Regions from separate parts of the Homo sapiens genome. Here regions 1, 2, 3, 5, 6 and 7 are each linked to region 4. The links are contacts of gene promoters, found by promoter capture Hi-C in blood cells and fetal thymus (Javierre and others, 2016). All regions are on one chromosome and are shown on one strand. Each heading gives the region's core, a stretch centred on a gene start or on the middle of the fragment in contact. The rest is flanking DNA. Distances are from core to core; before and after follow the strand shown. Region 1 has its middle 35 kb from the start of HDGFL3. Region 2 overlaps BNC1 (basonuclin zinc finger protein 1). Region 3 overlaps FSD2 (fibronectin type III and SPRY domain containing 2). Region 4 holds the start of C15orf40 (chromosome 15 open reading frame 40). Region 5 overlaps HDGFL3 (HDGF like 3). Region 6 overlaps HDGFL3 (HDGF like 3). Region 7 overlaps FSD2 (fibronectin type III and SPRY domain containing 2).

Region 1 (3,048 bases), core at 405-2,904, 230 kb after region 4:
ATGGTGAAACCCCATCTCTATTAAAAATACAAAAAAAAAAAATTAGTCTGGCATGGTGGCGGGTGCCTGTAGTCCCAGCTACTCGGGAGGCTGAGGCAGGAGAATGGCATGAACCCAGGAGGCGGAGCTTGCAGTGAGCCAAGATCGCGCCACTGCACTCCAGCCTGAGCAACAGAGCAAGATTCTGTCTCAAAAAAAAAGAAATTGAAGAGGCTAGGTGCTGTGGCTCAAACCTGTAATCCCTGCACTCTGGGAGGCCAAGGTGGACGAATCACGAGGTCAAGAGATCAAGACAATCCTGGCCAACATGGTGAAACCCCAATTCTATTAAAAATACAAAAATTAGCTGTGCATGGTGGTGCACGCCTGTAGTCCCAGCCACTGGGGAGGCTGAGGCAGGAGAATTGCTTGAATCCAGGAGGCGGAGGTTGAAGTTAGCCAAGACTGTGCCACTGCACTCCAGCCAGGTGACAGAGTGAGACTCTGTCTCAAAAAAAAAAAAAAAAAAAAAGGAAAAAGAAATTGAGGTATACATAAATAAATAGATATCCTGTGTTCATTGAGTGGAAGAATTAATATTGTTCAAATATCCATGCTACCCAAAGCAATCTACAAATTCAATTCAATCTCTATCAACATTCCAATGTCAGTTTTCATAGAAACAAAAAAAGCAACCTAAAATTCATATGGGACCACAAAACCCCCTGAGTAGTCAAGAAAATCATGCACAAAAAGAACAATGCTGGAGAGGTGTCACACTACCCAACTGAAAACTATACTACAGAGCCATAGCAATTAAAACAGTATGGTACTGGCAAAAAATAGGCATATCAACCAATGCAATAGAATAAGGAGCCCAGAAATGAACTTATGCATGTATAGTCAATTGGTTTTAAATAAAGTTGCCAAGAATGCACAACTGGAAAAGGATAGTCTTCAATAAATGGTTTTAGAAAACTTGAAATCCATATGCAGAAGAATGAAATTGGATCCTTATCTCACACCATATATGAAAATCAACTCAAAATGGAATAAAGATTGAAACATAAGATCAGAAACTGTAAAACTACTGAAAGAAAACAGAGGGAAAACTATACAACATTGGTCTGGCCAATGATATTCTGAATTTGGCCTCACAAGGGCAGGCAACAAAAGCAAAAATAGACAATGGGATTATGTCAAATTAAGAAGCTTCTGCACAGCTAAGGAAACAATTGACAGTGTGAAGAGACAACCTACAGAGTGGGAGAAAATATTTTCAAGCCACATATCTGATAAGGGGTTAATATACAAAATATATAAGGGACTCAACTCAATAGCAAGAAAACAAACAAAATAATTTAAAAATGGGCAAGGGACTTAAACAGATATTTCTCAAAAGAAGGCATAGAAATGCCCAACAGTATATGAAAAAATGCTTGATATTGATAATCACTAGGGAAATGCAAGTTGAAACCACAACGTGATATTTCACACCTGTCAGAATGACTATTATCAAAAAGACAAAAGATAGCAAGTATTGGTGAGGATGTGGAGAAAAGGGACCCTTGTACATTGTTGGTGGGGATGTAAATTAGTACAGTCATTATGGAAAACTATATAGATGTTCTTCAAAAAACTAAAAATGGAATTACTATATGATCCAGCAATCCCACTTATGGGTATTTACTTAAAATACTTGAAATCAGTTTGTTGAAGAGATGTCTGGACTTCCATTGTCATTGTAGCACTGTCCACAATGGCCAAGCTATGGAATCAAGCATAACTCCAAATAGTGGGGTAAGGGGAAAATGGAGAAATGATGGTTAAAGGGTACGAAATCTCAATGAGGAGGAATGAGGTTTTTTTTTTTTGAGATCTATTGCATAGCATGGTGAATATAGTTAATAATAGTGTTTTGTACATTTCAAAATTACTAGGAGAGTAAATTTCAAATGTTCTCACTATAAAACATAAGTATTTTAGGTGATGAATATGTTAATTAGCCTTATTTAATTATTCCACTTTGTATTCATAAATCATAACATCACTTTGTTCCCTATAAATGTACACAATTATAAACTTAATTTATACTGGGGTAGGGAGGCAGTGGGGGTCAGGGAATTCCAATTATTGTAAAAGCTTTTTGGTGCTAGTTGACTTTAAAAACTACGTGCATATATTACTTAGATAAAAATGAAAAGTAGATGATTAAACAAACACTTTTTTTCTTTTAACAAAAGAAAGGAAGAAGATGGAAGGATGCTGGCAGGGTGGTAGCATTAGAGTGATCTTTTTTTAATCTTTGTCTTTTACTGTTTCCATGCACCTCCTCCCGCCCTACCTCCAATTAGTTTGTATTACTTTTGCATTCAGGAAAAAATTCCCAATATTTAGGAAAAGCTAACACTTCTTCATATCCTTAGATCTCTACTCTGGTGGCTTGGATATTGGGTCAGAGAAGCGCCTTCCTTCTTTAACAAAAGTCATACTATCATACGTGTTTATTTTTTCACTCAAGCATTGTGCGATAGGTTTTTCTCCCTGTCCTTCGGGAAGCTATTCAGGGTACACCCTACTGCACATCCTGACCTCAGGCTGTCCCTGTCAGCGGCCAGCAGAGTCCTCACTTGACTAGCTTTGGAAGAACCGAGTGGGGTCCGAGCTGTGGGCAATGAAAGTGGAGTTGAGTAAGAGCACCTGGCTGGGTTGAATGCCCATGACCAACCAGCCAAGGAGAACTGCTCACCCAGAAACTCAAGCAAGCCTCCACGTTTTGGTCCATTGACCCAGCTCAGGAAGAGGGAGAGTGGAAAGTGAAGGAGGAAAGGACAGCGGGACTGGTTCTGAAAGCTGAGAGAGCAGAAAGCTGAGGGCTCTCACTTCCCGTGTGTCCTTTTTTTCTGAGCCCAGAGGTCATGTGGTATAGCGGGAGAAACGCTAAGCCTGGGAACTCTCCCAGTTGTTCCTTCCTGACCTGTAAAACAGAGCTGCCCTTGCAGGGCTGATGTGAAAATTAACTACATTAAGTGAACTGTATAGAAACTATATGGTACTTTTCAAGACTAC
Region 2 (2,771 bases), core at 261-2,760, 250 kb after region 4:
GACATACCCCTTCTCCCAGGAAGCTTTCCTTAACTTCTCATGGTGCCCTCCCATGTGCCCACAGCAGCACTTCCCCCATTGTAGAAGTCATCACATTCAACTGTAATTGCCTGTTTCTGGTCTGTCTCCCAGAATGACTAGACTAAATCAACTAGACTAGTTTAACTAGGACACTGGAACCAGGAGATCCCAGGAGAAAACTGGTCACAAACTATAAGGAACTAAGAAAAGGACTTTATTTCAATGAAATCAGGAAACATTACCTTCTGGGGCTGCACTGTCCAATGATAGCCACTAGCCATATATGGATACTGAACACCTGAAATGTGGCTAGTATCATATGTTGAAAGGATAATATTTTGGATATACTGAAGTTAAATGTTATTAAATTTTACTGCATCTGCTTTTTTACAGTGGCTATAATATTTAAAATTTCATATGAAGCTTGCATCGTATTTCTATTGGATAGCACTGGTCAAGAGCATTGACATACACTTCATCCCAAAAATTCTAAAAGTGTGGTTGAGAATCCAATTGGCTAGAATTGTGTGTGTATGTAGTTTAGTTCATATTTGTAACGTTTCACTATCCTATACCAGACAGAAGTTTTGCAAATGCAGCAGAATAAGCATACCACCAATCTTCCACCCAATGATTACTCTCGAAGGACAGATAATGAGTATCCATTATGACACATGCCTTTTAGTCATATGTTATCATTTGGAATTAACTTGTAAATCAATGTTGGTCTTCCTCAGAAATCCTCTGCTAACTTTTGACAAGCAAAAGTCCTTACCAAGGGGGTTACAATCTTAAAGGTGATAGGAGAATTATTCCAAATAGAGAAAACACTCCCCCAATACATATCAGAATGTATGGCAGAGTCAAGTTGGGAAAACACCTTCACCAAAATAACTAAGAATTGAACTTTTTAAATCCCCAAAGACGTGTGTGGGAAGCTTACTTATGTTTTATAAAATGTACAAAATTTACTGTTCAACTTCTGTCTTCTATTCCCTTACACATATATTCTGGACATAATCAGAATTATACTCCCAGATCACCCACTTTGCAAGCAGCCCTTCTTAACTCCAACTCTGCCCTGTGATTATGTCAGCATTCTGGGTTGAAGGGGCTGGTATGTGCCGACAGAAAACCAGACACTGGGTGGACGTACAGGTTCCAGTACATACAAGTGGTTAAAAAGAAAGACAAACACTTTTATTGGAACCTTGTAAAGAAAGGTCCCTACTGGAACAAAGCAAACCTCTGGGACTCATACTCAACTCCTGAGTATTCCATGCATACTAATGGCTAACTTGTGGGCTCTCGCTCCTCTCAAGCCTTAGAGGGTTAGATACATTTCCTGAGGTGCCATGTCCCCTAAGACCAGTAACTACTACAACTGTAAAAACCCTCTGGATCATGTGCCAGGCTTTGGTTTCTAGGACTCTCCTAATCCTGTACTCACTGCCCATGTCTCCATCTCTTCCCTTCAACCCTACAACCTCTACCTCTCCCCTCCAACTCTTCCTCTTGGCTTCTATTTTGATTAGTTGAGACCAGTGGTTCTCAAAGTGTGGTCTGAGCACCCCTAGTGATCTCTGAGGCCCTTTCAGGGGGTTCCTGAAGTCAAAGTTTCATAATACTAAGATATTATTTGCCTTTTTCACTTTCATTGTCTCATGAGTGAACAGTGGAGTTTTTCAGAGGCTACGTAACACAATTTTGCAACAGAGCATATGCAGAAGCAGATATGAGAATCTAGCTGTCTTCTACGAAGTCAGACATTAATGAGATTTACAAAAATGTAAAACAAAGCCACTCATCTCACTAAATTTTTGCTTTGGAAAATGTAGGGTTTTTTTCATAAACATATGTTAATATATAATTTAAAGTTTTACAATTTTTAAATTTTTAATTTCTAATATGATAAATTTTGATAGATATAACCCAAATAGAGAAAAGCTCTTGAGTAACCTTAGGTTTTAAGTATTTGTAAAGGGGTTATAAGACCAAAACGTTTCAGAGTTACTGGTGTAGACATATCCCTTCTTCCAGGAAGCTTTCCTTAACTTCTCAAGGTGCCCTCCCACAACAGCCTACATTTCCTTCACTGCAGAAGTAATCACATTCAACTGTAATTGCCTGTTTCTGGTCTGTCTCCTCCACTACAGAAGGCCTCTATGGGCAGGGATTATGTCCCCAGCACCTAACATAGACAGTTCTTAATATTTGCTGGGTAAATAAGCATCCAGGGTGTTGTCCCAGTCCCTTCCTGATGGGTCTTGGTAACTGTTGCTGGCAGTAGCAGTGGCTCAAAGAGAAGTTAAATGTCCCTACAGGAATGTGGTTCTCAATCTCTGACTGAGAGAAATGGTGTCAGGTCTGGGCCTGCCCACAAAGTCAAATTTAAAATACTGTAACTTAAATCATAGATTCTAGGTAAAATGCATTTCAAGTTCTAGACTAATTAGTGGTTTTAATTTATAACGCAAGATGCTTTCCTGTTGTGGTGGGGGAAGGCTCGGATCTATTAATACAAATAGGTCAGAACATAAGGAAATATTAAATCTATGAAAAAATAAATATCAAATGAAAAAGTATCTTGAATCCAATATGCCTTCCAATTTAGTAGATATTGTAGGATAGAACAGTATCATAAATATCAAAGATAATATGACCAACATGACTGTCTCTGTAGCAACAGCTTATTCATGAACAAACACTCCTCCTCTTGGAGGCTGAAGAAGGACTGGTTCACTAATTAG
Region 3 (2,911 bases), core at 190-2,689, 250 kb before region 4:
CCTCGTCCTCTCCCAAGCTCTCTAGGTCTTGGAAACTCAAGATATTTTGCATATACACGAATATAGTTTGACAGCTTCAAAGACTTTTGAGTTCGTTTAGTCTGAGCCTTTATTTTACAGCTGGGCCTGGTAATGACTATCCTAGCAGCACACAGGTAGCAGCACACAGGACTAGAATCCAGGTTGGGTGAAATGAGCGCTAGCACACCAGTCAGATAATAGCATGAGCCATAAATTGTGCTGGGCACATGGTGCTTAAGTGCCAGGTTCAGCCAGCTAAGGCGTGAGCAGCTGCGAGAGGGGTAGGCATGGAAGACAGGAAACTGGACATCAGAATGTTCTAATAGAAAGTGACATGTTTTGGCATTGAAATGCCATTATGTACCTTTAGACACCCAGGCTTTTCCAAAGAAAAACAGGGATGCACAAATTCGTGAAGCTGACAACTAAATGTATATAGATGCTGAGAAAGGTCCACATTGAAAAATGACAACTTTGAATGTTCATAGTCTAATAGAATGCCAATCTTCTTTGGTGGAACTGTTATTCTTATATCTGGAGTTGTTCTGTTGTGCAGAAATTCATACTTATGCCTGAAAATTAAATTTGACATAATAAAGTTTCAGTAATTCTATAGATTGACTATTTATAGAACATTTCATACTAATTTTATTCATAGTCCTATGATTTTGCTATTTTCTAGTATTAAATGACTACCAAGGTGACAAGCCATTTCTAAAACTATACTCTCTAAACTATCTCTTTTCTAAAATTTGTCCTAAGAAACATTTTCTTTTTTTTTTTTAGATGGAGTCTTGCTCTGTCACCCAGGCTGGAGTGCAGTGGTGCAATCTCGGCTCACTGCAACCTCAGCCTCCTGGGTTCAAGCAATTCTCCCACCTTAGCCTCCTGAGTAGCTGGGATTACAGGCGTGCACCACCAAGCCCGGCTAATTTTTGTATTTTTAGTAGAGACAGGGTTTCACTGTGTTGCCCAGGCTGGTCTCGAACTCCTGAGCTCAGGCAGTCCACTTGCCTTGGCCTCCCAAAGTGCTGGGATTACAAGTGTGAGCCACTGCTTCTGGCCGAAACATTTTTCAAACATCATTTTTTCTCTAGCAACCTCTTAACCTAAGAAATTTACCTATAGCATCCTGAACTCTCTTTCATCTAAACTAGCATAGGAATAGAACATGTTTTTAAAATTTGGATTAGACATTTGAAACAGGGAACCTTGTGATTTTCCATGTGATAAAATGGGCTTCTTGGTATAAGCTCTTCTATGCACAGTTACTCCAGTTCTTAAACTTTCATATTGAGTGGGGAGCCAGTGGGCCTGTTACCAATCAATACTATATCACTATCCATGCTCTACATCCTGTGTACTTTGAAAAATGGCAGAAATGAAAACCTGTCACAGGAATTTCCTAACCCTGCTACCTACAGATATTTGAAGAGCTCTTTGTGTCAACAGGCTAGTCTAGGCTACTGGGATAAACACTTGGAATATGATCTAAACGTGTCAGAGGAAGCCTGCCTGTCTCTAGCCCATTTCACCTTAATTTAACTAAGCAGCTGCCAGAAGCTATGAGTCGTTTCTTCTACTTTCTATGCTACCACCAATAAAGTCTAATACTATGAGCCAAAAATGCAAGTCTGCTAGGAGACCTTATCCTAGGATACCTTACCTTCATTCTCCACTTGTAACGTGTGTGCACGTGTGTGCGTGCACGCACACACACACACACACACACCCTACATCTGTAAGAAACTGGCTTGGCTCTAGCACTTGGACTGTAGCTTTTGCCCTTCTTTTGTCATTCTTCTGTTTCCACCCCTCTTCTATTGTGTCTTCTTACCCCCTTTATTCTTCCCTCTACACGTGGACTTCTAGGCTTTCTTTATGCTCCCTTAGTTTTACTCTGCCCCTTGTTCTTGCCTTTCTAAAGAAGAGACTTTGCTCTTTAGTCTTACTTCAGGCAGAATCCCCAAATAAAGTATCTGCCTCAGTGTATAGTAATTCTTGGATTCCCCAAACTGGGTGTGAGGTTTAGTAGATTTCATTAGAGTCTTCATCTGTTATCGGAGGGGAAGTTGGTTTTCCCACTTATGCTTGGGCATGACACATAATGTGTAAATAACCATGATAGAGGATCATGGGCAGAGAGCATTGGATGAACATTAATAGGATTCATCAAATCAAGGAGGGTCAGAGGCCCCATTTTACAAGGTGTGATAGGAAAGCAGTGTGGGGTCTTGTTTTTCAGTTTTTGAGGTGAAGGAAGGTTGTAACCATGGCCTTCTAAGTCTGAAAGTGTATTCATTGGCCTGGGCTTCGTGAGACTTTTTTTCCCACTATATGGAACTACTCCATGTGTAAAGACAGAGTGCCCAGCAGCAGGAGCAAACCAGAATTAGCCATAACTACTAAGCCTCTTGCCCACATTTACTTAAAAAGATGGAACTGGGGCTTCAAAGCAAACTGTATTGGCTTAATACTAAAGGTGAACAGAAATGAAAAATCTATCACTTAAGTGGTTAGGAATGAAATCTTTGGAACCAGACTGCTTGAGTTTGAATCCAAGTTCCAAATCCATGTCGTTTGGATTATCTAATTGCTGTGAGGTGTGGTCTTCTTATTTTTATTCTTTTATTTTATTTTATTTTTTTATTTTATTATTTTTTTTTTTTTAGAGACGGGGTCTTGCTATGTTGCCCAAGCTGGCTTTGAAGTCCAGGGCTCAAACAATACTCCTACCTCACTCTCCTGAGTAGCTGGGACTACAGGTGCACACCACTGCACCCAGCATTCTGATTTTTCAAATGAGATAACACAATTGTGAGAAGTAAATGAGATAATGCATGTAAGAGTACTTGGCACATAATTCTCCATAAATTTTAGCTATTTTTAG
Region 4 (2,700 bases), core at 175-2,674:
CCACCCCAGTGTCCAGGTATACCTGTTACAGCATTTTGTTTGGAGCCAGGTTTTGCATGGATGGCTATGGTGACGCATCCTTTAGGATCAACTGCCACAGGACCTAAGGGAGGAAGTGGTCTCTCTGGTTCCTTGCTCTGGCTTTTACCCTAAAATGACAACCACACAACTTTACAGGTTACAAAATATTTTCCCACACATTTAATTTGATTCTTCCACTACCCCCTTTCACCCTTAACAGACAAACTAGGCTCATCAGTGGTGTCCAGGGACTTCTGGCCACCTAGAAAGCTTTTCCCACAACCTTCAAGGCTCTACTCAATTTTCCCACGAAGGGTTCCCATCAACCCAACAGTGTTTTTTCCCCCCTTGCAAGAAAACCTAACTCTGGCTTCTAAACCTTAATGCTTGCTCCTCCCTCTGCTTTGTATTTCCAATTCCTTGGGGGCAGGGATCATTTATTATTCATCATTGTATCTCATGCAGTCGGAGCTAATAAATGTTGGTGAAAGTGTGTATGTCTGCATGTTGCGGGAAAGGGAGGAAAAAAAAATAGTGCTTGATATTTAAAGGCCTGTTATGGGACAGGGGCTGTGCTAGGAACTTTCGTTCAACAAATATGTAGGCAATGGATATGTAAAGATGAAAAGGTACATGGTCCTTGCTCTCAAGGAGCTCGGACTGCTGCGAGGGAGAAAGAACATACAAAATTATAATACACTGTGCTAAGTGCACCGATGAGATAGGCACAGAACATTACCCCACAGGCAAATCAGCATTGGGGCACTGGAGAATGCTGCCAGCAGGAGGCAGTGCTTGAGCTGAGTCTGAGAAACGGACTGGGGTTGGCCAAACAAAGATGGTGGAAATGGGAGTGCTGTATTCTTGACAGAAGGGGTGCGATCAGCCAAAGCAAGGGAGGAGAAAGCAGAATACAGCCTCCTGGGGAAACGCAGGTCATGCCGCTGCGGGAACATGAATTGCTGGACTGGGAGTGCGGGTAGGAGGCCAAAGGTCAGCACACGCAGCCCAAGGAGAGCTCGGCTGCCGCCGGGCCCAGCGCTCAGAAATCACCAGGTGGACGGCAGCGCAGCCTACTGAGGCGGGGCGACGGCAGCAGGCCGCAGCTCTGGGGGTGGCGGCGGCTGTCCTGAGCCCCGGAACTGAGAGACGGCAAGCCGCTGGCAGTGCCTCCACTCACTCCCGGGCCCCGCTTCTCCCGCGCTCTTCAACAAGTACCCCTGAGGCCCACCCCTCTGCCGCCACGGGACCTGCTACTGGCCTTGGTCGTCGCACCAGCCTTCTTAGGCATCTCGGCGCAAAGAAGCCGAGCGGAGCCCCGAGTATTGGGTGTTGCCCGAAGGTGCCTCAGCCCGCTGCGGAGCCGCAGCATCCCCGCCTGGGAAGGCGCCGGAAGAGCCCTCTGCGCTTGCGCAGGTAGCCGGCAGGAGCGGCCCCACCGCCCGGCGCATCCGCTCTGGCCAGAGGGCGACACCTTAAGGCCGGCGGGAGCGAGTCTCGTGGCCGCAGAACATGCGCGAGTCTCTTTTGTTCTGGAACGGGCCGAGCCCCAGGAAGTGGAGCTGCGGAGCTGAGGCCTCACCGTGTCTTGGCCCACCCTGCTCAGCTGATAGGAAGGTGTGTCACCTCTTTCCTAATCGGGGAAAGAAAGGTATTGTCACTTCTCAGAATTGGAGAGCGCGGCAAGGAGTGCACAGGGCCAGGTGTCTTCTCGCTCCCACAGCCAAGCAGCAGATGCAGAGTCCCACGCGCTGCCTGTGGCCATCAAGTCGATATAGAGCCTCGTGGCGGCTTGGCCCTTGTGAATCTTCCACGTATCGATGGCGCACCTACCTTGTGCCAGGCGCAGCGGATCCCACAATGTAAAAGAAGAGGAAATACACTGCGACATGTGATATGGAGAGACATGAAACAAATCAGCAGAGGCAAGATCATGGAGTCACTGAAGGCTTTCAAGCAAGGGATTATTAGCAGCCCAATTTGCTGGGTTTTAGAAAGACACCGGCTGCACTGTGGCCGACAGAGGAAAAGCCAGAGACAGGGAGATCCGCCCCCTAAATGGGAGAGGGTGGCCTGAACTAGAGTAACCGCAGGGAGGGTGGAGCGCTGATCATTTCAAGGATCTTCAGGAACTGAAATGATCAGAACTTGGGAATGACTGCATGTGCGAATAAGGGGGAAAAGTCAAGGAAATGCCCAGGTTTGGGGCCCAAGGAACAGGTTTGGGAGGCCGAGGTGAGGAGTTCAGCTTTGGACATAATGAGTTTGAGATGCCCACAGGACATCCAAATACAAATGTTAAAGGGGTAACTGAATATATGTGACTGGAGTTTGCGAAATCAAGGCTGGTGATAGAGATTCTGGAATCTTCTGAAAGCAGATGGCAATTGAAGCTATGGAAATGGATGAGAGAGTGTGTAAAGAGCACGAGGGCCCAGGTTAGAACAGCAAGGGCAGGTAGAGAAGTCACCAAAGGACACTGACCAGGTAGGAGTACGGTGTAACGGCAGCTAAAGAAGGGCGCTTCAAGAGGGAACATCAACAGTGATGAACACTCTGGAGAGAACATGTCACATGTAACGACTGAGAAGTGGCCACAAGATTTAGAAATCAGGGTGGTGGTGGTGACCCGGGCTACAGCAGTTTTAGTGGAGAGAAGGAAATGGAGATAATTGTAGA
Region 5 (2,700 bases), core at 64-2,563, 190 kb after region 4:
ACATTTCCAGTGCCTTCTCCTATTCAATAACTCCTTTCTACCCACTACAAACCAGTGACCACTGTATCAGTAATTTATTCCTTTTTATTGTCAAATAGTACTCCACTATGTGAATATACTACAAATTTGTTTACTCATTCTCCTGCTGATGGACATTTGGGTTGTTTCCTGTTCTATCATGAAGAAAGTTGTTATGTATGAGCATTCTTGTACAGTATTTTGGTGAATATAAACACTCATTTCTCTTGGGTATATGCCTAGAAGAGACTGCTAGGTCACAAGGTAAGCATATGTAGATTAAGTCAGTTTTCTTAAGTAACTATCAATACACTCTACTAGCAATATTTGATAATTCTCATATAAAGTTTTTAAGTGTAAAAAAGTGCTTTAGTTAAAGCACAATAATTTTGAGGCTTTTCGTTTACATTGTTTTCTGACCTTTTAGAGTAGGGGGTAACATAAGCAGAGTGCTCACATCTCAGCGGAAGGTTTGGGTGGGGTATGGGAAGAAAACAGAATTTTGATTTCAGTTTCTTACTCTTTTAGCTAAAAAGTAAATTTTACTAGTATTTTATATGCAAGTTGACACTATTAATAGTATTCTTATTCAGATGGTTATGTTTATTCACGTTGAGTATACTGTGATTTACTGCCATTTGGTGTGTGCCCGGTTGAGCAGGATTATGGAATATCTACTTCTAACTGAACTAGCTCTCACCAAATGAACAGGTGGCTAAAAAAAAGAAAGATTCCTACACAAAAATAATATTAGTAATGTAGATGCAAGCAAACAACAAGGTAAATGTCTAAGCTGACACTTCTATTCTAGAAAATCTCTTCGGAAGTTAAGAACAATGACCATCCATCTAGTCAAATCTCACAAGAAGCAGGCAGAAAATATTCCAAAAATTAAGACTTTAAAAAATATGAACTTAACCTATAAGTAATAATAAGTATTATTACTGTTAACGATATTGTGCAATGAAAATTTTAAAACATATTGTTTTCATCATGTCATCCCTTTTAGTTTCTTTTTGTGTTTATTTTATGCTGTATATAGTAGTAACAGAAAGCACATGTATATATAAAGAAAATTTAGATATATTAGTGATGTATGCTCAAATTATTTTACCAACAGGGTACACAAACAAAAGCGATCAGAGACTCGTTTTAGCCTCAGTACTTTTTAACATTAAGCTAGCTAATCCATAACATAGATGAACTTCTAATTTTTAAAGCCACACAAAATTAGGCATACTAGATGAGAAACAGCCAGCTGCTATTTAATGTTAGAATAATACATCTGAACAATGGGGGAGAAGGAAGGAGGAGGACAGGAATCTACCAGAAAGAGGCATGAGAGTACTTTCGTAGGCACTGTTCTATACCTTGGTAGGTATTATGTCAATGTATTTATGTATTTATATTATATATATGTATCACATATACTTATATATATCAGACATATATCATATAGAGAGCTATATTTATATTATACCAATGTATACATTTGTCAAACTCACCGAATGGTACAGTTAAGGTAAGTACATTCCATTCCATGTAAATTTTACCTCAAAAGAGAAAAGGATCCATTCAAAGTATTAACCACTAGGTTAATGGCATGCATGTGTCTAGGAGTAAATTATGGCGATGTGTGCAACTTACCTTGAAATGCATTAAAATAAGAGGAACTATTATGTAGATAGAGGGAGGATATATGAACAGATGCATGAAAGAGCAAGTAGAATGAAATTTAATTGTAGAATCTAGGTGTAGATAAATGGGTCTTCACAGTTCAATTTTTTAAACTTATCTATATATTCGAAATTTTTCAGGATAAAATATTGGAAAAATAAATCTGAGTTGAAAGTTGACAATAATTTAAAATAGTGTAGTGATACAAAGGAAAGTTAGAAATTCAAAAAGGAAAAAGGTAGGAACATACAAGTACCATCACTTGGTGCTTTTAGATACTCTGTATTTGTGAGGTGAGAATTATCTTTATTTTACAGACGAGTAAACAGAAACTTAGAAAGATTACAGAACATGCACAAGGTCACAGTGTGAAGCCCAGCCAAGAGCTGAATCCAACCTGTAGGAATTCTGAATCCTCTTGACCTACATTCCTCACAAAGGGCTGCCTAGGACCAAACATCTTCCCTAGAGCAAGGAAGTTGCTTCTCCATTCCTGTATGAACCAGCTCTAATACAAAGTGCCTTCCTACAACATGTACTCTGAAATCTGTTTCTTCCTGGTTTCCCTCCTAAGTTTGAGTCCTTGGCGCCCCACAGTATCTAATGCCCACATGAATGGCCTTCGTATCAAGTGATAATATTTGAAACTTCAATAAGCAAGACTTTTTTTCCCAGTTAGCATTTTATAACATTATCATCTACACAGCTATACCTAGGTGTAAGATGGGAATAATGCCTCATAGAATTGGGATGAAAAAAATGAAAACATATGTGAAGTATACGCACTGTAAAAAAGGGGACTCAAATCTTTTTCTAACCTTTACCTTTGGAAATTGCAGCATGCCACTAACGAGAAAATAAAACTTCTTTTTTTGAGTCTTAGGTTGTTTCTTGAGGAGCTCGTTAAATGTGAATAGATACAGATTTTTCTTTCTTGTACCTATTTTATCTAAAAACTTAATTTTGTTTCCTCATTTTATTTTCCATTTTGCCTTATTTGGAATT
Region 6 (2,809 bases), core at 241-2,740, 170 kb after region 4:
GGTTTAATAAACATGTAACTTATCAATTTTTTTTTTTTTTTTTTTTGAGACGGAGTCTCACTCTGCTGCCCAGGCTGGAATGGAGTGGCATGATGTCGGCTCACTGCAACCTCTACTTCCCAGGTTCAAGCGATTCTCCTGCTTTAACCTCCCAAGTAGCTGGGCCTACAAGCACACACCACCATGGCCGGCTAATTTTAGTAGAGACAGGGTTTTGCCATGTTGGCTAGGCTGGTCTCGAACTCCTGACCTCAAGTGATCCACCCACCTTGGCCTCCGAGAGTGCTGGGATTACAGGCGTGAATCACCATGCCCGGCAATTTAATATTTGAAAAGAACACTGTTAAAAGAACTGCAAGCATGATGATATGGAAACACCTTCCAAAATACTAGTTTGAAAAAATGTATGAAATATCAGGCTGAGTTATCTTCAAATATATAAAAACGACCATCTACTAGTGATAGAACAATCTTATAGCTACAGACATTTTTTCACCCAATAAAACCCTAAAAACATTGTCATTTTAATCTTTAAAATAATTATAAATAATTTTGAGAGGTCATGATATACCTAGAACTTAGTGCTTTTAACTAAGTTGTATATAGCAGATGTACAGGGGATGTATGCAGGCTGTATAAAGGGGATGGGCCAGATGATTTACTGAGGTTTCTCATTAGCATGTTACACTGCTGATTCTGGAGGAAGAATATATGTGGGGCATTAACTCAGCCTCATAGTATACCTGGGGAGAGGCGTAGTCTCTGACAACTGAAAGAACACAGCTCGAATAGTTAAAAGTGAGGCATTTCGATTTATGATCTTCATTTAAACCTCCAGGGTTTATCCTTTTCAATTCTTGTAGTCACTTTTTTTTTGAGATGGAGTCTCACTCTGTTGCCCAGGCTGAAGTGCAGAGGTGCGATCTCAGCTCACTGCAGCCTCCGCCTCCTGGGTTCAAGTGGTTCTCCTGCCTCAGCCTTCCGAGTAGCTGGGATTACAGACATGTGCCACCACGCCCGGCTAATTTTTGTATTTTTAGTAGAGAAAGGGTTTCACTATGTTGGCCAGGCTGGTCTTGAACGCCTGACCCCAAGTGATCTGCCCGCCTCAGCCTCCTGAAGTACTGGGATTACAGGCGTGAGCCACCATGCCTGGCCCTTATAGTCACATTTTAAATTGAGTTGTCTGATCTGGCTTATTCCCCCAACGCTGCACCCTCCTCCTCCACAATCCTCCTTGGTCTTCAAAGCTATTGTCCACATAGATTCTATTTTGAACAGGCATAAAATAAAACACACTTGCTTTTAGGGTTTATTTTTACTTTTGTTGAGGTAAAACTTAAATGCAGTAAAATACATTGATCTTAAATGTGTATTTCATTATTTGGTAATGTGATAAATGCATATACCTATATAACAAATACCTAAATCAAGTATAGAACATTTAAGTCATCTCAGACATTTTCCCTGTACTCTCTACCAGATATTTCCCTTTTCTCATAGTCTTTTTATGGCTTTTTATGGCTAGTCTTTTAAATTTTAGTCATTCTAGTAGGCATGAAGTAGTATCTTCTGTGGATATCTTTTAACAAACTAAAGTGTTATAATGCTTTATGTATTTACTTTAAATTTTAGTCATTTTAGTAGGCATGAAGTAGTATCTTCTGTGGATATCTTTTAACAAACTAAAGTGTTATAATGCTTTATGTATTTACTCAAAATAAATGAAAAGGTATGTCCACACAAAGATTTGTACAAGGTTGTTCATAGCAACTTTATTCCTAATAGCCTAAATCTGGAAATAGCCCAGGTGTCCTAATGAAAGTGGCCAAACCAACTATGGCATATTCATACAAGGGAACACTACTAATATATACAATAACATGAATGAATCTTTAAAACACTATGCTAAATGAAAGAAGACTTACACAAGAGTACGTATTGGATGATTCCACTTATATTAAGTTCTAGAAAAGGAAAAGCAAATCTATGGTGAAAAAAAATCTGAGTATGATTACCTCTGGAGATTGGGAAGGGTATTAGAGAATTTTCTGGGGTAATGGTAATATTTTATACAGGTCTCATGAAATTTAACACTTAAGATCTATGCATTCACTGTATGTAAATTTTACCTCAAAAGTTTAAATAAATATTAAACTCTAGTTAGTTATATGCATGCTGAAGTATTTAGGGATGAAGTAAATTAATGTCTGCAATTTACACTTTAAAATACATAAAAAATAAGATAGCTTGATGGATGAACAGAGATTGTTAGATGGACAGAAATGTGATAAAACAAATTTAGCAAAATGCTAACTATAGAATGTAGGTCTTGGGTGTATGGGTGTTCACCGTGATATTCAACTTTTGTGTATATTTGAGTATTTTCAAAATAATACGTTGATATAAATAGAGAGGGAAGAAGAGGATGAGACTAGTGTTAACAAATTGGCTATATCCTTTTCTCTTAAAATGTAAAGTCAACAGATATTATCTAGTCAATAAATCAGGAGACTACTGTGCTTCATTACAAGCCGAGGTTGATTTTTAAAACCCTGTACAGATTGAAACCACAGTAGTAGCTATTGGGTACTATGTTTATTACCTGGGTGACAAAACAATCTGTACACCAAACCCCCATGACATAAAAATCAAAAAGAAACCAATAATAATATACATGCACAAGGCCTGCCCCAGAAAAAAGTGTCATTCAAAAAAACAAAAATCGTAGAGTGAAATTATTGCTAAATAATTGGACAATTAAATTTATTGTGCCCTGCTGTCTACAACTTCTCCTTTAACAGGCCCT
Region 7 (2,901 bases), core at 276-2,775, 220 kb before region 4:
TCAGCCTCCCAAGTAGCTGGGACTACAGGCACATGGCACCACACCCAGCTAATTTTTTATTAGTAGTAGAAATGGGATTTCACCATGTTGGCCAGTCTGGTCTCGAACTCCTAACCTCAGGTGATCCACCCGCCTTGGCCTCCCAAAGTGCTGGGATTACAGGCGTTAGCCACCGTGCCCAGCCATAAATTTATTTTTTAAATGCATGCAGAGCTAAAAATATTCCTTTGTTTGAGTAGCGATCATTGGCAGAAGTGGGTATTTTGCCTCTTAGAACAACAAAAAAGTGTTTGACAGTCTACACCTGACTTTATATAGTCAACATTATAGGTACCCCCAAAAGCCTAAAATTAACAACTCCCGAAACCAACGGAACAACATGGAACTCCACTGTTTCTGGTTTCTCCGCCAATGCACCAGATAGCAACCCGGGGATTCTCAGTAAGAACTTCTACCCCAAAAAAAGAGGTCCAAAACAAATAAACAAACCCAAAAAGACAAGGGCAAAAGAAAGGATGTCCCCTCTTCACCACCTGGGCTCAAATGAGGGAATTCACTGGATGATGCCACCGTGAAGTCATCTTTGTTAGAATAAGGGTCTATCAAGTTGAATGATGAAAACAGTATACATTAAAAAAAGAATTCGAATAAGGGTCTAAATCACATACAATTGGTGATTTGGGTAAAGGGGGATTAGGAGAAAATGAAGCCAGTGAAGGAGAGGGATTGTGATTGGGAAATTTCTACCTTATTTACTCATGCAACAAACATGTATAAAATGCCTGCTCTGAAACATACCATGTAGTAGGACTAGGGATATTGAGACAGACGACCCAGCTTTCACACCAAGAGCTTATAGTTCAGCAGGGAATGCTGACAGGTAATTGGTTCCATGACGTCCATGCCCAGGTGCTATGGGAGGTCAGTGAAAGAAGGGAGGAGAGAAGGGGGAGTGGTGACCCCTCACATTCTAAGAAAACAGATTCTCTAGCTCATACCAGAAACAGCTGCTTGACATAGCCATTGATGGAAGAAATGTGAGTCTGATGAGGTCTTCAAGTGTGCTCTTACCTCCACAGTGATGAAAACCTCCTCCAAATGATTTGCAAAGTTTTCCATCTCAATTATCTGCTTTTCCAATTTGTACATGTTTTTGTGAATTTCATCCTATCCAACAGAGGATCACAAAGAAGGTATTAATGTTACATCTTCTCTCACTCTTGTAGAAGGCGTTTTAGATTTATTCCCTGCGTATGTACTTGAGATACCAAAGCAATATCAAGACAGAGAAGAACCAAGGACACCTATTTACCTTGGCACTTTCCAGTGCTTCATTGAGTGGGATCACTTCATGCTCCTTATGTTCATCAAAAACCTTCTGAAAAGCTCTTATTGGAGTCTTACAAGTGACACAGAAGACATCAGCAGCTTCTTCTTCATCCTCTTCCTCGGGGATGACATAGCATTCATACTCCTCGCTGGCACGGCCGTGTGTGTACCTATAGGCTTCCCGCAAGTCCTGGCACTGGCCTGCTGAGCCCCACCCTCCGAAGCCCAGGTCCTCGGCCTCCGCTGCCTCTCCACTAAGTCTCCAGTCTCTCTGCTCCCTGGCTGGGTCTCTCCTCTTCATCATATAAGGAGGATATTCTGAAACCCCTGTTCTGGGTATGTTTTCATCAACAAACTCATCCCCTAATTCATGATCATCTTCAAGTCCATATAAGTGGACAAGTTCATCCACTTCCTCTTGAAGGTCTCTTTGAGCCTTACCATCCCCTGCTCCTCTTGACTCATTGGCCATTTCAGCTTGGACTACTTTCCTCATCCTAGTGTTCTCTTCTGGAAAGAGGTGCAGTCTGTCTTCAGAGTCATACAGGTCCATGTGGTAAAAGTGGAAATCCTTGGGAGTAGACCTGTCCAGCCCCAGTTCCTCCCCCGATTCCTCCTCCATTGTAACTCTGGAAGTCCTCAGAAGCACCTTTATATAAGAAAGATCCTTCCTGGACACTTAATAGTGAATATCTGGGCCCTGGAACACAAAAGGAGGAGGAAAATCATTTCTGGAGAAGGGCATTGCAGTAGATGATCATTAGATTGGGCTCTACTCATATAAAACTTTAAAAAAATTATCTGTGTAGTTCAGTCGTGGTTTCACTTTGAACCATCTTTAAAAAATTTGTTTTCTATGGGAGGATGGGCTTTCTAAGGTTAAAAGAGACAAAAGAAATTACAAAAGAAATGTCTAATAGATATGTCCAACAAAATACTTCCCTCATACATTAAAAAAAAAACTTAAAAGGCAAAATAATGGGAAGCATCTCAGGCAATTATTATTATTATTATTATTAATTTATTTTTGAGATGGAGTCTCACTCTGTCACCCAGGCTAGAGTGCAGTGGCATGATCTCGGCTGACTGCAGCCTTTGCCTCCAGGGTGCAAGCAATTCTTGTGCCTCCACCTCCCAACTAGCTGGGATTACAGGTATGTGCCACCACACCCAGCTTATTTTTGTATTTTTGGTAGAGACGGGTTTTCACTATGTTGGAACTCCTGACCTCAGGTGATTCACCCACCTCAGCCTCCCAAAGTGCTGGAATTACAGGCATGAACCACTGCGCCCAGTCTATTATTTTTAAATTGTATAAATTAATTGAAAAAGTGGCATCTCAATAGATGAATGTGCACAGACAATTCACAAAACAATTACTTTTGTATATGATAGCACCTGCACAAAAACATTTGAAAAAAACTGTACTTAAAAGTAACAGAACAGGCCTGGCGTGGTGGCTCATGCCCATAATCCCAGTACTTTGGGAGGCTGAGGCAGATGGATTGCTTGAGCTCAGGAGTTCGAGATCGTCCTGGGCAACATGGCAAGACCCTGTCTCTACCAAAAATA

The links. Contacts are between HindIII fragments. The CHiCAGO score rates a contact against its expected background, and 5 or more counts as called.
Region 1: a contact is called between a fragment that was not itself captured here and the fragment with the promoter of C15orf40 in region 4, in 2 of 17 cell types (megakaryocytes and endothelial precursors). The highest score is 6.4, in megakaryocytes.
Region 2: a fragment that was not itself captured here is called in contact with the fragment with the promoter of C15orf40 in region 4 in 1 of 17 cell types (erythroblasts); the score reaches 5.2 in erythroblasts.
Region 3: a contact is called between a fragment that was not itself captured here and the fragment with the promoter of C15orf40 in region 4, in 10 of 17 cell types (total B cells, monocytes, neutrophils and 7 more). The highest score is 8.5, in total B cells.
Region 5: a fragment that was not itself captured here is called in contact with the fragment with the promoter of C15orf40 in region 4 in 13 of 17 cell types (megakaryocytes, erythroblasts, endothelial precursors and 10 more); the score reaches 25.4 in megakaryocytes.
Region 6: a contact is called between a fragment that was not itself captured here and the fragment with the promoter of C15orf40 in region 4, in 2 of 17 cell types (erythroblasts and megakaryocytes). The highest score is 8.0, in erythroblasts.
Region 7: a contact is called between a fragment that was not itself captured here and the fragment with the promoter of C15orf40 in region 4, in 1 of 17 cell types (neutrophils). The highest score is 5.6, in neutrophils.

What each region holds. Positions count from the first base shown.
Region 1 is chr15:83,241,140-83,244,187 of GRCh38, forward strand. No RefSeq gene overlaps it. Among named protein-coding and RNA genes, the nearest start is that of HDGFL3, 35 kb to the left of the region's middle. RefSeq lists a silencer at 2,664-2,864. The HindIII fragment of the contact is 930 bases long and covers 1,190-2,119 here.
Region 2 is chr15:83,258,460-83,261,230 of GRCh38, forward strand. All of the region lies in intron 4 of BNC1 (basonuclin zinc finger protein 1), which reads right to left. Among named protein-coding and RNA genes, the nearest start is that of BNC1-AS1, 24 kb to the right of the region's middle. The HindIII fragment of the contact is 1,106 bases long and covers 958-2,063 here.
Region 3 is chr15:82,759,008-82,761,918 of GRCh38, forward strand. It overlaps FSD2 (fibronectin type III and SPRY domain containing 2), which reads right to left. Exons shown (of 13, transcript NM_001007122.4): 13 at 1-593. The coding sequence ends at 341. Among named protein-coding and RNA genes, the nearest start is that of SNHG21, 9.9 kb to the left of the region's middle. The HindIII fragment of the contact is 4,379 bases long and covers 1-2,911 here.
Region 4 is chr15:83,010,215-83,012,914 of GRCh38, forward strand. It overlaps C15orf40 (chromosome 15 open reading frame 40), which reads right to left and starts at 1,425. Exons shown (of 4, transcript NM_144597.3): 1 at 1,283-1,425; 2 at 23-149. The coding sequence starts at 1,393. It overlaps LOC124903542 (a long non-coding RNA gene), which reads left to right and starts at 1,527. Exons shown (of 2, transcript XR_007064742.1): 1 at 1,527-2,700. RefSeq lists an enhancer at 1,603-1,662. The HindIII fragment of the contact is 2,628 bases long and covers 290-2,700 here.
Region 5 is chr15:83,202,763-83,205,462 of GRCh38, forward strand. The region is part of intron 1 of HDGFL3 (HDGF like 3); the gene reads right to left. Among named protein-coding and RNA genes, the nearest start is that of HDGFL3, 3.7 kb to the right of the region's middle. The HindIII fragment of the contact is 5,158 bases long and covers 1-2,700 here.
Region 6 is chr15:83,180,618-83,183,426 of GRCh38, forward strand. The region is part of intron 1 of HDGFL3 (HDGF like 3); the gene reads right to left. Among named protein-coding and RNA genes, the nearest start is that of HDGFL3, 26 kb to the right of the region's middle. The HindIII fragment of the contact is 6,389 bases long and covers 1-2,809 here.
Region 7 is chr15:82,785,440-82,788,340 of GRCh38, forward strand. It overlaps FSD2 (fibronectin type III and SPRY domain containing 2), which reads right to left. Exons shown (of 13, transcript NM_001007122.4): 2 at 1,313-2,029; 3 at 1,072-1,167. The coding sequence starts at 1,951. Among named protein-coding and RNA genes, the nearest start is that of FSD2, 19 kb to the right of the region's middle. The HindIII fragment of the contact is 3,444 bases long and covers 1-2,901 here.